Linked DNA regions of Homo sapiens: regions 1, 2, 4 and 5 are each linked to region 3. Evidence: promoter capture Hi-C in 16 types of primary human blood cells and fetal thymus (Javierre and others, 2016). All regions are on one chromosome and are shown on one strand. Each heading gives the region's core, a stretch centred on a gene start or on the middle of the fragment in contact. The rest is flanking DNA. Distances are from core to core; before and after follow the strand shown.

Region 1 (2,700 bases), core at 186-2,685, 730 kb before region 3:
CAAGATTGTGCCACTGCACTCCAGCCTGGGTGACAGAGTGAGACTCTGTCTCAATAATAATAATAATAATAAAATTAGCTGGGTGTGGTGGCATGTGCCTGTAATCCCAGCTACTCGGGAGGCTGAGGCAGAGAATCACTTGAACCTGGGAGGCGGAGGCTGCAGTGAGCCAAGATCGCGCCACTGCACTCCAGCCTAGGTGACACAGTGAGACTCCATCTCAAAAAAAAAAAAAAAAAAGAAAAAAAAGCACAGTAAGGCAGACTTTATTCAGGACCATGGAGATAGACACAGGAACTGCTGGAGTGGGCTCTTGCAGTTGGGGAGAGAGACTGGGCTCAACTCCCAGTACAGCATGGGCGAGTGGGGGGTGATAGCCAAGGAGCAGGGTGGGGGCCAGGGGATGGGGAATTACTAAGAGCAACATCAGGGGTCGGGGATTCTAGCTAAACTCACCTAACACGATTCTAGCTGAAGACAGGCTAGGGTGACCAGACATCACCAGAGGGGTGATGGGGAGGAGAAGCCTGACCAGATATCAAGGGTGATCAGATATGGAGGGTGGGGGGTTTCTGCCACAGTGAGCTAGCAGGGTTCTTGCTAAAACTGGATTGTATAAGGAAGCACACAGATGGGTCTAGGAGAAGCCTCAGGGGCCCGACTAATATTGGGTCAAGCAGAGTCCTTGTCAGGAGCCTCCGGGTGACTTGTCTGTCTGCACACCTCAGGGGAGGAGAGGCCCCTGACCTGGGCTACCAGGCCAGACTGAGAATAAACTCCTCTACGGAGAAAACATTCAGCAACCTGTAACTTAAAAGAGGACTTTCCAGACTGCGAAAACAACCAAAGCAAGGTCACTGCGTCTGAAGGGGCGTGGCCCACCTGGAGCCCAAGGCAGCCTTCCCTTCTGGGAAGGCGGGGAGGGAGCTGAAAGGGAGCAGAGGCTGACCACAAACTGTCCTGGAGGCTACGCTCAAGACTTTTTTTTTTTTTTTCTGAGACTGAGTCTGGCTTTGTCACCAGGCTGGAGTGCAGTGCCGCAATCTCAGCACACTGCAACCTCCGACACCCTGGTTCAAGCAATTCTCCTGCCTCAGTCTCCGGAGTAGCTGGGACTACAGGCATGTGCCACCACACCCAGCTACTTTTCGTATGTTTAGTGGAGACGGGGTTTCACCATGTTGACCAGGATGGTCTCGATCTCCTGACCTCGTGATCTGACCACCTCAGCCTCCCAAAGTGCCGGGATTACAGGCGTGAGCCACCGCGCCCTGCCAAGACTTTTGTTGACTCCAGCATAATTGGAAAACCAGTTGAGTTTTTAAAGCACAGAGGTTACATAATAAGTCTGTATTTTGCTAGAATGTAAAACCCATCAGGGCAGGGATTTTGGTCTGTTTTATTTCCAGAACACCTGGTAATAACTGAATAAACAATTGTGTAATGTATGAGTGAGCGAATGAGTGAATGGGCTGCAGGAAGGTAGATCATGCTGGCCACAGTGCAGAGATTGACTTAAGTGGGCAGAGTCTGGGAAGGGAGGTCAGGAGGCTGGGATACCAGGAGAGAATGAAAAGGGCCAGTTGGTGCAGAGAGCAGCCGGGGACAGACTGGAGGGGACAAGTGGAGAGGTTTAGAGGTGACTTTACAGTGTACTTCATACTTCAAAAGTCTGGCACAGACTAGCCATTTGTGGACATTCTAGATCTGATCAAAAGCAGAACCACCTGGCCCTTGACTCCAGCAACACCATGGCTGGCCTGGAATTTCCTCCCCGGCAACGGTCGTTCTCACAGCATTTCTTCCCAGTTTACTTAGAGCTTTCGCAGACATTGCCTCATCAGATCCTTATCACAGCCCTGAGGATGGGGACTCATTAGCTCCATTTTACAGACTCAAAAACAGAGGCCAAGAAAGGTTATGTGACTTCCCTGGGGTAACACATGGGAAACATGGAATTCAGATCCAGGTCCACCAGTCTCTGCCTCCAGGGTCCTTTCTGCTTCCTCACTCAATTGGAGAGATGTGATTAGCAAATGTGAAAGAGAGCACCAGGCAGCGTGTGGATTCAGCATGAAATGGGATATTAAGAGTGATATTAATAATAATGCATGGCTCTGATGTTCATCAAGCACTGCTGTGTGCCAGCTTCTACTCCAAGCACTTGACCCGAGTCCCCTCATTCATTCCTCAGACACTCTTTGAGTTTGGTCTGTCATTCTCCCCATTTTACACGTAGTACTGGCCAAGCACGTGAGGGACACCACTGTGGGCTTAGCCACCAGGGAAGGCCTCAGAGAGGACGTAAGATGCGGGCAGGGGAGGAAGAAGGCACCTTGAGGCAGGCTTGGCTTGAGCGAAAGTGTGGAGGAGTGGGTGAGAAAGGAGGGGAGAAGCCAATGGGTGCATGAGACAAGGCCCTGGCCTGCGTGCTCTCCAGGAGGGGCCAGGCCTGGCATTGAGGTCTGGCCACAGTAAGTCCCTAGGGCAGGGGCTGACAACAGGGTGATGAGGGTGCCCTGGGCTTCGGTGAGGAAGAGGGGTGGGAGAGGGAGACAGCTGGCTGGTCAGGGCACTGCGGGTTGGTTTGGAAGTCCTGTGCTCAATCTGTCCTCCCACCCCAGCCTCCCAAGTAGCTGTGACCACAGGCAACGCGACCACACCCAGCAAATTTTATTTATTTATCTTTTTGAGACAGGG
Region 2 (2,714 bases), core at 210-2,709, 800 kb before region 3:
CAGTGGCTCCGGTCAGCCAGGAAGAAGGTCCTGAGAGGAGAGGGCAGCCGAGGACAAGGCTGTGAGGAACACTCACAGTGAAAGGCGCTTAACAGAAGGGGAGCCAGCAGAGGGCCCAGAGGAGCACTAGGAGTGCGGAAGCATTCTTTCAGCCGAGGGCTCTGTCCTTGTGTGTCCGCCTGTTATCCAGCATGGGAGAGCAGACTTTTCCTTCTGTGTCTTAGGCTCCTGAGGCCCTTGCCCCCCAGCCTTGACACCTGGCCAGCTAGGAACCCTGGCTGAGTCTCTGGCAAGCTTTCATTGCCTCACTGTCACTCTTGGGACAGAGCCCATGCTTCTTAGCCTGGTACTCAAGGTCTTGGGGGTGTCCCCTGCCAGTCTCTCGGCTGTGTCTGGTGCCGTTCTGATTCTCACACCACATGCTCTCCCCCGCCCCAGCCCCTCCGTGGGCTGCCTGCCACACAGTCATCCATCAGCGTGCTGTTCAAGTGTCACCTCCTGGTTGAACCCTTTTTTGACTCTCCAAAGAGAGCTGAGCTCATACACCTTGGCACCCATCCTGTACTTCACCTGTCCGAGCACTACATCACTTTGGTGGCACCTGTATGTTGCCAAGAGGTAGAGATCACCCCCAAATAGTGTGCTCACCAAACACAATTTTGTCTCTATCCCTAAGACCCAGCCCAGGGCAGCACTTAAAACTGAAAGAAGGAAGGAGCAAGCCAGAGATGACAGTGTTTTCTCTCATTTCAGGATCATGGTTTTGGCAGGAGACACACTGCCCATTGAGGTATACTGCCATCTCCCAGTCATGTGTGAGGACCGAAATTTGCCCTATGTCTATATCCCCTCTAAGACGGTAAGGAGCACGTGGCCCCCTGACCTTGCTCAGCACTGGGGTGTCTGGGATAGTCTGCCATAGCAGGAGAGTGTGGGAAAGAGCCAGGAGTGTTGGAGCTAAGACAGGCCTGGATGGATTCTCAGCTCCACATCTTCTTAGTTTTGGGACTACAGATATGTTACTTCTTGCATTTCAGTTCCCATCTTGTAAAGTGGGAATCCCAGCCCAGGCGCTGTGGCTCACACCTGTAATCCTAGTGCTTTGGGAGGCCAAGACAGGAGGATCAGTTGAGGACAGGAGTTCAGGAATAACCTGCGCAACAAAGTGAGACTCCATCTCTACAAAAAAAATTTTTTTAATTAGCTGGGTGTGGTGGCACATGCCTGTAGTCCCAGCCACTTGGGAGGCTAAAGCAGGAGATCACTTGAACCCAGGAGTTCAAGGCTGCAGTGAGCCATGATCATACACCACCACACTCCAGACTGCATGACAGAGTGAGGCCCTGTCTCAAAAAAAAAAAATAGAGGCTGGGGGTGGATCTTGGGTACCTACAGTATCACTTCTTGGGATAAAGCAGGAGGCCCTGTTCTGAAGGAACTTACCGTTTGGCCTGATGGTAAGAACCAAATAGTCAGTTATCTGTGGACTATGAGAATAAAGAGATAGATGTATGTGAAAGAGCTTTGTAAGCTAAGATGCTTCACCCATGTTAGTCCGGTTAGGTGGGTTTAGGCTCAGAGGGACCTGTAGCTGTCCTTATCTTACGTAACAGGGGCCAGATCTGAGGCACAGGAAGTGGGGGTGGCAGGGACCGGGACAGCCCCTGCTGGGCTGGAGCCCTTTCATAGTTGCCATGTGGGAATGTAGGCCCTGTGTGGCTGGACCATGCCTTCAAAGTCTGATTGAGTTTAAATGATGGCAACCAATTCAAGATGCTTTTAAATAGAACATGGACCGAACAGAACATGGTTGTGGGCCAGATTAGGCTGGTGGGTCATCAGTTGGTGACTTCCTGGCATACAGGTTGTACAGCTTTTTTCCAAACAGCACTTCTTTCCCCTCTGTAGGACCTGGGTGCAGCCGCAGGCTCCAAGCGCCCCACCTGTGTGATAATGGTCAAGCCCCATGAGGAGTACCAGGAGGCTTACGATGAGTGCCTGGAGGAGGTGCAGTCCCTGCCCCTACCCCTATGAGGGGCTCCGGTAGCACCTGGGCACCTGCCGCTGGAAGCTATTGGGCTGGCAGCAGGACGACTGGCTGTCCTCCTGCCCACCCACACTGACGGCATCTTCCCAGTTCCCCAAGGCACGCCTTCTTCCCAGGCAGCTCTAACAGCCCTTTCATGAAGGTAATGCTAGTCTTCTGTCCATCAGTGCCATTTCCTGTAGAACTAAAGGCTGTTCCAAGAATGTGGGGTGGGGAAAGTAAATGCTAAGACTAAAATGTGGTGAGTCTGTGGGTGTTTTCTTAAGCAGCAGCTGCTGGTTGGGCCAGCGAGTTGGTGGGCGGGAAGAGTGAAGCAGTCTTCCTCAGCAGAGAGCCCAAAGGACTCAGAGGGTTCTGTGCTGATGCTCAGCTGCCCAGGGCCGGGTGCTTTGGCTCAAGCTGAGAACTGATCCTGCTGCTATCCCAGCATTTTCAACTCCCTCTTCCAGGGTAGATGGGGGCTGTGAGGTAAGGCAGGGGGCCCAGACCCACTTCATGGAAGCCTAAAGCCCCCACATCAGGAACACCCCCATTCCTAACTTAACCCAGGAGCCTTAAATGCCACTGTGAAGCTTATGGAAGCAATTTACCCACCCACACAGCACATTTTAAATAGGAATATGAAGCTAAAATGCATTCCCCCGAGCTCTCTTGCTTAACATAATGG
Region 3 (2,700 bases), core at 91-2,590:
GGTTTCACCGTGTTGCCCAGGCTGGTCTGAAACTCCTGAGCTCAGGTAATCTGCTCGCCTCTGCCTCCCAAAGTGCTAGGATTACAGGCCTCAGCCACTGAGCTCAGCCGGAAGTCTGGATTTCTGATGTGAATGTACATATTCCGACTTTGTGTGTGTGTGTGTGTGTGTGTGTGTGTGTGTGTGTGTGTGTGACAGAGTCTCGCTCTGTCGCCCAGGCTGGAGTGCAGTGACGCGATTTCGGCTCACTGCAAGCTCTGCCTCCTGGGTTCAAGCCATTCTCCTGGCTCAGCCTCCCGAGTAGCTGGGACTACAGACACCTGCCACCACGCCCGGCTAATTTTTTGTATTTTTTAGTAGAGACGGGGTTTCACCGTGCTAGCCAGGATGGTCTCGATCTCCCGATCTCGTGATCCGCCGGCCTCAGCCTCCCAAAGTGCTGGGATTACAGGCGTGAGCCACCACGCCCAGCCTCTATATTCTGACTTTAAAATACTGGTAGTTAAGCCATTTATTAGAATATTGGCAGGTAAAACAGAGCTCTATTCAGCTGCAGGCCACCAGTTTTCGACCTCTGATTCACAGCTTTCCTGGGCCTTCCATGGACGTTACTTGCTGTACCAGGCACTGCGCTCTTTTGCATAGGGATGAGTTCCAGTCATCACTGGGGTCCCAGGCCAGGATCTGTGTCTGTTCCTCTTGCTTCAACCCGACTAGGCCTGAGGAGTTGAGGGTAGTGGAGGCCCTCAAATAATTGGGAATTCTGAGTCTCCAAAGGCGCGAAGCTGGGGCGCCTGACGGCAGGCACGGCTTAAAGGCTTGCCCAGGGCCACCCGGGGAGGACAAGGGTTGGAATGCAGGACTCCGCCTTCAATTCAGAGCTCCTTTCTCCAGGACTAGAAAAGGTTATTCCAGAGACGGGACTTGCGGCCAGAAGCCCAAGACGTCCTAGTCTTCGCGAATCCGCCCCATTAGAGCGACCGACAAAAACTACAAATTCCAGCATGCCCCGAGTCGCGGACGGCCCTCGCGCTCCCGCCGGCTCCAACCATCCCTCTGCTCCTCATTGGCTCGCAAGCCTAACGTGCTGTTCCGTGACTGGTTACAGCTCTTGTCGCTCGAAAGAACCCATTGCTGGGGCTGGCCGGCGTGTGCCTTGGAGCCTCTAAGGAGATGAAACTGCACTCAACCAGGATGAGAGGCTGCCCGGCCAATGCAGCTGCCGCCCCGTCTGCTGCGGAGGCTTTGCTTTTTGACTCCCTGGCGACAGTAAAGTTGAAGAGCTTCCGGCCGGAGGCCAATAGATGGGACCCCCGGAAGGCGGAAGTTCTAGGGCGGAAGTGGCCGAGAGGAGAGGAGAATGGCGGCGGAAGGCTGGATTTGGCGTTGGGGCTGGGGCCGGCGGTGCCTGGGAAGGCCTGGGCTTCTCGGCCCCGGCCCTGGCCCCACTACACCTCTCTTTCTTCTTTTGTTGTTGGGGTCTGTGACTGCGGATATAACTGACGGCAACAGTGAACATCTCAAGCGGGAGCATTCGCTCATTAAGCCCTACCAAGGTGAAGCCCTTGGGGCGGGAATGAGTGAAGAGTGAGGGCGAGGCTGAACAGGGCTAGGGGAAGGCGTGCCCTTTCTCCTGAGCAGAGCATCTCTGTGGGTTTCCTGCCTCTGGTGAGGCCAGTCCTGGCGTGGCCTCTTAGCACCTGTCTCTTCCCACAGGGGTCGGTTCCAGCTCTATGCCCCTCTGGGACTTCCAGGGCAGCACTATGCTCACGAGCCAGTACGTACGTCTGACCCCTGACGAGCGCAGCAAAGAGGGCTCTATCTGGAACCACCAGGTGAGTGGTTCTCAAGAGGATAGGCGTACTGTGCGGTTGGCTGCTAGTCCCTGCCTCCCGAGCAGCTGAGACCCCAGCTTCGTTTATAGGTTTGCACCTCCGTCCCTGGCCTTTTCCTCATCTCGGTCACACCCACCAATAATAAGAGGCGATGGGTATTGGGTACTTACTATGTGTCAGGAGCTGCGCTTGACACTTTACATCCTCCTCACTTTAAAAGCCATGCGAGATGAGTAATGTTATCTCCATTTTACCCACTGAGAAGCTAAGACTCAGGTTTGAAAGGGCCTTACCCAAAGTTACATAGCCAGAAAGTAGTGGAACTGTCAGGCTGTCTGCCTTGAACCCCCTCAGTAATGGGAAGAACCGAGCGAACTGGATCTTTATTGGGTGTTTTGCTGTGTATTAGGCACTGACCTTGCCATGCCTTATTGCATTTAATTTTCAAACAAGCTGTTTGAAATAGATGGCTTTCATGACTATACAAAGATAACCCAGCTAGCAAATGTCATAAACAGTATTTAAACTCTGATTTGTCTGATCTCTAAGCCCAGCAGTTCACTCGATGTACTTGACTCTTTTCACCTGGACAGTGGAGGAACCCCTTAGAACCCTTTTTGCAATGCTTGGTTGAGGGTCTTGTCATCAGTAGTGTGGAGGGACTGGACCTGTGGGCAGTTCTAGTGTCTGTGACCTTTGCCTCAGAGTATGTAGTATGTAGTATGTGAGCAGTGGCCAATGACAGCTGCTACACAGAATCCACACTGAGGCAGTCAAGGTGAGGAAAAAGGGGAAAGAAGAATAATTTGGGGCTGGGTTACAGCTTGGAGCGGGACCTGCTCCTGCCCCAGCTTGCCTAATCTCA
Region 4 (2,826 bases), core at 238-2,737, 780 kb before region 3:
AAAAAAAAAGAAAAGAAAAGAAAACTCCTTTCCTGTCCCAGCCTTTCTGGTCCCCTTAGCCCGAACTTAATCTGCCCACTGGGTATTCAACAGAATTCAGTTCTGCGGAGGAGGGGGTCCAGCCCTACCCTGCCGCCCTGTGTTGGTCGCTGTCCTGGGGAACGGGGGAAGGGGAGAAGATGGGAGCTGCCCATCTGCCCTAAGGAGGAAGGGTGAGGGTTAGGAAGGAGGAGGGAACAGGCACTGACCCCAAACCCAGGTCCAGACTGAATTTTCTTTTTCTTTTTTTGAGATGAAGTCTTGCTCTGTTGCCCAGGCTGGAGTGCAGTGGTGTGATCTCGGTTCACTGCAACCTCCACCTCCAAGCTTCGAGCGATTGTCCTGCCTCAGCTCCATGAGTAACAGATTACAGACATGCTCCACCATGCCCGGCTAATTTTTGTATTTTTAGTAGAGAGGGGATTTTGCCATGTTGGCCAGGCTGGTCTCAAACTCCTGACCTCAGGTGATCCACCCACCACAGCCTCCCAAATTGCTGGGATTACAGGCATGAACCACCACACCCAGCCCCAGATTGAATTTTCTATCCCGGACCCTCTGCTCTGGAGGGAAAGAGTAGAGAAGTCCCCACTCCTCCTCAGGCCTCAGCTGGGACTAGGAACAGCCCTGGAGAAAAAGCCAGGTCTCTGTGTTGCCCACTTCTGCTCCCTTTTTGGTTGGGCCTCATTCCAGGCCATCCTCCCCTTGAATCCTCCATGCCTTCCCCTCCCTCCCCTTTGCACAACTTACTTTTTTTTTTTTTTTCAAAATAGAGAGGTGGTCTCCCTATGTTGCCCAAGCTGGTTGCGAACTCTTGGCCTCAAGAGATCCTCCCCTCTCAGCCTTTGGAAGTATTGGGATTACAGGAATGAGCCACCATTCCTTGCCCTGTTTTCTTTTTTTTTTTTTTTTTTGAGACGGAGTCTTGCTCTGTCGCCCAGGCTGGAGTACAATGGCATAATCTTGGCTCACTGCAACCTCCGCCTGCCAGGTTCAAGCAATTCTCCTGCTTCAGCCTCCTGAGTAGCTGGGACTACAGGTGCACACCACCATGCCTGGCTAATTTTTTGTATTGTTAGTAGAGACGGGGTTTCACCATGCTGGCCAGGCTGGTCTTGAACTCCTAACCTCGCGATCCGCCTGCTTCGGCCTCCCGAAGTGCTGGGACTACAGGCGTGAGCCACCGCACCCAGCCGACCTGTTTTCTTTATAGCACTTGGAAGTTATCTTGCGTGTTTATTTGTTCATTCTGTCTTCTGGCCCCCACTCCCATCACCCTCTTTGGGGCCAGACATGGTGGCTCACGCCTGTAATCCCAGCACTTTAGGAGGCTGAGGAGGGAGGAATGCTTGTGCCTAGGAGTTCTAGACCAGTCTGGACAACATAGGGAGACCCTGTCTGTACAAATAATACAAAAATTAGCCGGGTGTGGTGGTGCACATCTGTAGTCTCAGCTACTTGGGAGGCTGAGATGGGAGGCTGCCTAGGAGGTCGAGGCTGCAGTGAGCAGTGATCGCGCCACTACTCCAGCCTAGATAACAGAGTGTGAGAGACCCTGTCTCAAAAACAAACAAACATGGGCCAGGCGTGGTGGCTCATACCTGTAATCCCAGTACTTTGGGAGGCCAAGGCGGGTGGATCATTTGAGGTCAGGAATTCAAGACCAGCCTGGCCAACATGGTGAAACCCTGTCTCTACTGAAAATACAAAAAAAAAAAAAAATTAGCCAGGCATAGTGGCAGACACCTGTAATCCCAGCTACTTCGGAGGCCGAGGCAGGAGAATCGCTTGAGCCCGGGAGGCGGAGGTTGCGGTGAGCCAAGATTGCACCACTACACTCCAGCCTGGGCAACAGAGTGAGACCCTGTCTCAAAACAAAACAAAAACGAACAACAAAAAAAAAAATTCCACCAGGCCCATGTTTTGTCTTCATCACTGCCTTATCGCCAACACCATATGCTTTGCACACAGGAGGTACTCAGAGATACTCAAGAAGCCAGTGTCCTCCACGTATACATAAGGAAACTGCGGCTCAAAAACCTTATGATATATAGCAGGGGAGAAGGCCCACAGCAGGACTGTGTGCCTGCAGGGGCGTCAGGAGGGCGGATCCCAGAGATGCCTGCCCAAGCATGAGGAGCCTGGGTGGCCCTGGCCCAAACGGAAGCCATAGGGGTGGAGAGTTGATTGAACCTTGCCTTGGTGCCAAGGGGCCCAAGCCACCTTCCAGCCAACCTGACCTCACAGGCTTTGGCAAATGCCCCAGGCTTCCCCACTTCCTCTCCGGGAGCCTTGGCCTGCCTCACAGCCAAGAAGGATGTGAGCAAAGTTGAGGTTCTCCCCCAGTATGTGGCCATCCTTGCATCTTGGTATTATTTTCAAGTGTGCACCAAGTTGTATTAAATAGTTGACTTTGTCCATCTTTCCCCATAGGGATTGTTTTTGATTTTTGTTAGGGATGGGGAGGATTCCTTCAAAGCAATCAATTCTCCCATTAATTCAGTAATAATTGAATTAACTTTTTGCCAGCGTAGAAGTTTTAAACATTCCCTGTATTCTCCGAAGCTTCAATAATTTGAGTCTCTGGAATAAAATTGACAGTAGACAGATTAATAGGAGAAAAGGCATGCAAATTTATTACATACATGCACAGGAGTCCCACAAAATGTGAGACTCTAGTAAGGGCCAGACTGATGAAGTCTAAATAGCATTTGAGCTCCAAAAACTGGGGCCTGAGGTTTCTGGGAGGAGGTGGCAGCAGACGCTAGGAGGTTGAGGGGAGGAAAT
Region 5 (2,700 bases), core at 18-2,517, 750 kb before region 3:
GGTCATGGCCCTGGCAGGTCTGAGGACAGGGTGGGCACAGGACTGTGTGCAGCATAGAAAAGTCAGGGAGTGCAGCCTCCTACTCTGTGCCAGCTGCCAGCCCCTGGAGCTTACCAGGTTGACGGGGACAAAGAATGCACCAGAGGGAACAGTGACCAGCCTGGGCAACAGAGCAAGACCCTGTCTCAAAAAGGAAAAAAAAAAATGGGGAGGAAGGCGATTGGGCAGAGGGCACCAGCAGAAGAGCTCTGGATCGAAGTGCCTGACAGAGGAGTCCCCCGTTAGAAAAGGTCCTGATACTAAGGGAGGAGACCACCCCTCATATTGTCTTATGCCCAATTTCTGCCTCCAAAGAAAGAAAAAGTAAAAACTAAAAGGCAGAAATGAAATCCACAAGCAGACAGCCCAGCACCACACCCTGGGCCTGGTAGTTAAAGATCGACCCCGACCTAATGGTTGATGTTATCTGTAGATTACAGACATCGTATAGAAAAGCACTGTGAAAATCCCTATCCTGCTTTGTTCCCGACTAATTACTGGCGCATGCAGCCCCCAGTCACGTACCTCCTAACCCTCTCACGCGCACCCCCTTAGAGTTGTGAGCTCTTAAAAGGGACAGGAATTGCCCACTCGGGGAGCTCGGCCCTTGAGACAGGAGTCTTGCCGATGCCCCTGGCCGAGTAAACCCCTTCCTTCTTTAACTCAGTGTCTGAGGAGTTTTGTCTGCGGCTCATCTTGCAACAATACCACTGCCTTGCTCAGTCACTGGCCACCAGGGAACAGGGTGGCCTCGATCTGAGAGCTGAGGGGACCCGGAAGGTGCTGACAGCTGGGCAGTGAGTGAGTCCTTTTGAAGGGGCATATCTCCTTCCCCACTCACTCCTGCTGGGCCAGGCTGGGTAGCGGGCGCCCTGGGTTGCAGACATTAAGCCTTTAGAATGGAAGCTGGTTGACGGCAGGACTGTGGCCACCTAGACTCTTTCACCCCCGGTCTGTCACAGGCCAGGACCCACAAGGCCCTCGGCATGCTTAAGTGAATGTGTGCAGGAGTGAGGGAATGAACTTCCTCGAAAGAATTCTGGTGTGGGGCGGGGCGCGGTGGCTCATGCCTGTAATCCCAGCACTGTGGGAGGCCGAGGGGGGCGTGGATCATGAGGTCAGGAGTTTGAGACCAGCCTGACCAACATAGTGAAACCCCGTCTCTACTAAAATTACAAAAATTGGCCGGGCGTGGTGGTGTGCTCCTGTAATCCCAGCTACTTGGGAGGCTGAGGCAGGAGAATGGCTTGAACCCGGGAGGCGGAGGTTGTGGTGAGCCGAGATCGCACCACTGCACTCCAGCCTGGATGACAGAGTGAGAGTCCATCTCAAAAAAAAAAAAACCACCAAGAATCCTGGCGTGGTGAGATTCTGGAACTTGGCCTCAGGGACCTGCATTCACATTCAGCCCTGGCCCTTCTTAATTTCTTTGACCTGCCCTAGGCCTTAATTTCTCTGTTGGTGAAATGAGAGTGATGATGCCTGTCAAGATATTTCATTTTCTTTTCTTTTTTTTTTTTTGAGACAGAGTCTCACTCTGTCACCCAGGCTGGAGTGCAGTGGCATGATCACGGCTCACTGCAACCTCTGCCTCCCGAGTTCAAGCGATTCTTGTGCCTCAGCCTCCCAAGTAACTGAGACTACAGGCATGCGCCACCACGCCCGGCTAATTGTTTTGCATTTTTAGTAAAGACAGGGTTTCACCATATTGGCCAGGCTGGTCTCGAACTCCTGACCTCAAGTGATCCACCGCCTTGGCCTCCCAAAGTGCTGGGATTACAGGCATGAGCCACCGCCCCCGGCTGGTCATGATACTTCAATGTAGTGGTGTAGAATCATGTGTCTGCCACGACCTTCCTTAGGTGGAGCAGAAAATGTCACCCCCACGTAAGAAAAGGAACAGGAAGAAAATATGCCAGGATATGTCTCTGGGTGATTTTTTTTTTTTTTTTTGAGACGGAGTTTTGCCCTTGTTGCCCAGGCTGGAGAGCAGTGTTGCAATCTCCAGCCACTGCAAGCTCCGCCTCCCGGGTTCACGCCATTCTCCTGTCTCAGCCTCCCTAGTAGCTGGGACTACAGGCACCCGCCACCACACCCAGCTAATTTTTTGCATTTTTAGTAGAGACGGGGTTTCACTGTGTTAGCCAGGATGGTCTCGATCTCCTGACCTCGTGATCTGCCCGCCTCGGCCTCCCAAAGTGCTGGGATTACAGGCGTGAGCCAGCCACCGCGCCTGCCTGGCTGATTTTTTTGTTTTAAGTTGTTTTTTTTTTTTTGAGACAGGGTCTCACTCTATCACCCAGGCTGGAGTGTAATGGTGTGGTCTCAGCTCACTGCAACCTCTGCTTTCCAGGTTCAAGCAATTCTCCTGCTTCAGCCTCCCAATGTAGCTGGGACTACAGGTGCACGCCACCACACCCAGCTAATTTTTGTATTTCTTTTTAATAGAGACGGGGTTTCACGATGTTGGCCAGGCTGGTCTCAAACTTCTGGTCTCGTGATCTGCCCCTCTTGGCCTCCCAAAGTGCCGGGATTACAGGCATGAGCCACTGCGCCCAGCCTGTTTTAAATTTTATTTTGAAATAGTTTTAAGATACAGAGAAAAGGCCGGGCGCGGTGGCTCACGCCTGTAGTCCCAGCACTTTGGGAGGCCGAGGCGGG

The links. Contacts are between HindIII fragments. The CHiCAGO score rates a contact against its expected background, and 5 or more counts as called.
Region 1: a contact is called between a fragment that was not itself captured here and the fragment with the promoter of LMAN2 in region 3, in 1 of 17 cell types (total B cells). The highest score is 7.4, in total B cells.
Region 2: a contact is called between a fragment that was not itself captured here and the fragment with the promoter of LMAN2 in region 3, in 2 of 17 cell types (naive B cells and total B cells). The highest score is 7.8, in naive B cells.
Region 4: a contact is called between a fragment that was not itself captured here and the fragment with the promoter of LMAN2 in region 3, in 1 of 17 cell types (total B cells). The highest score is 5.5, in total B cells.
Region 5: a fragment that was not itself captured here is called in contact with the fragment with the promoter of LMAN2 in region 3 in 1 of 17 cell types (total B cells); the score reaches 5.4 in total B cells.

Annotation. Positions count from the first base shown.
Region 1 is chr5:178,079,964-178,082,663 of GRCh38, reverse strand. No RefSeq gene overlaps it. Among named protein-coding and RNA genes, the nearest start is that of N4BP3, 32 kb to the left of the region's middle. RefSeq lists a cis regulatory region at 315-987. The HindIII fragment of the contact is 6,225 bases long and covers 1-2,700 here.
Region 2 is chr5:178,149,033-178,151,746 of GRCh38, reverse strand. RMND5B (required for meiotic nuclear division 5 homolog B) reads right to left here. Exons shown (of 11, transcript NM_022762.5): 11 at 1,179-2,714. NHP2 (NHP2 ribonucleoprotein) reads left to right here. Exons shown (of 4, transcript NM_017838.4): 3 at 754-859; 4 at 1,909-2,284. The coding sequence ends at 2,034. Among named protein-coding and RNA genes, the nearest start is that of NHP2, 3.5 kb to the left of the region's middle. RefSeq lists an enhancer at 294-795. The HindIII fragment of the contact is 2,325 bases long and covers 297-2,621 here.
Region 3 is chr5:177,350,308-177,353,007 of GRCh38, reverse strand. LMAN2 (lectin, mannose binding 2) reads left to right here and starts at 1,340. Exons shown (of 8, transcript NM_006816.3): 1 at 1,340-1,556; 2 at 1,717-1,835. The coding sequence starts at 1,361. RefSeq lists enhancers at 1,150-1,199, 1,210-1,399 and a silencer at 1,041-1,255. The HindIII fragment of the contact is 10,936 bases long and covers 1-2,700 here.
Region 4 is chr5:178,126,857-178,129,682 of GRCh38, reverse strand. It overlaps a transcript of N4BP3 not described here. Among named protein-coding and RNA genes, the nearest start is that of RMND5B, 2.7 kb to the left of the region's middle. RefSeq lists enhancers at 1-147, 1,161-1,821, 2,484-2,826. The HindIII fragment of the contact is 2,238 bases long and covers 369-2,606 here.
Region 5 is chr5:178,101,816-178,104,515 of GRCh38, reverse strand. No RefSeq gene overlaps it. Among named protein-coding and RNA genes, the nearest start is that of N4BP3, 10 kb to the left of the region's middle. The HindIII fragment of the contact is 5,559 bases long and covers 1-2,700 here.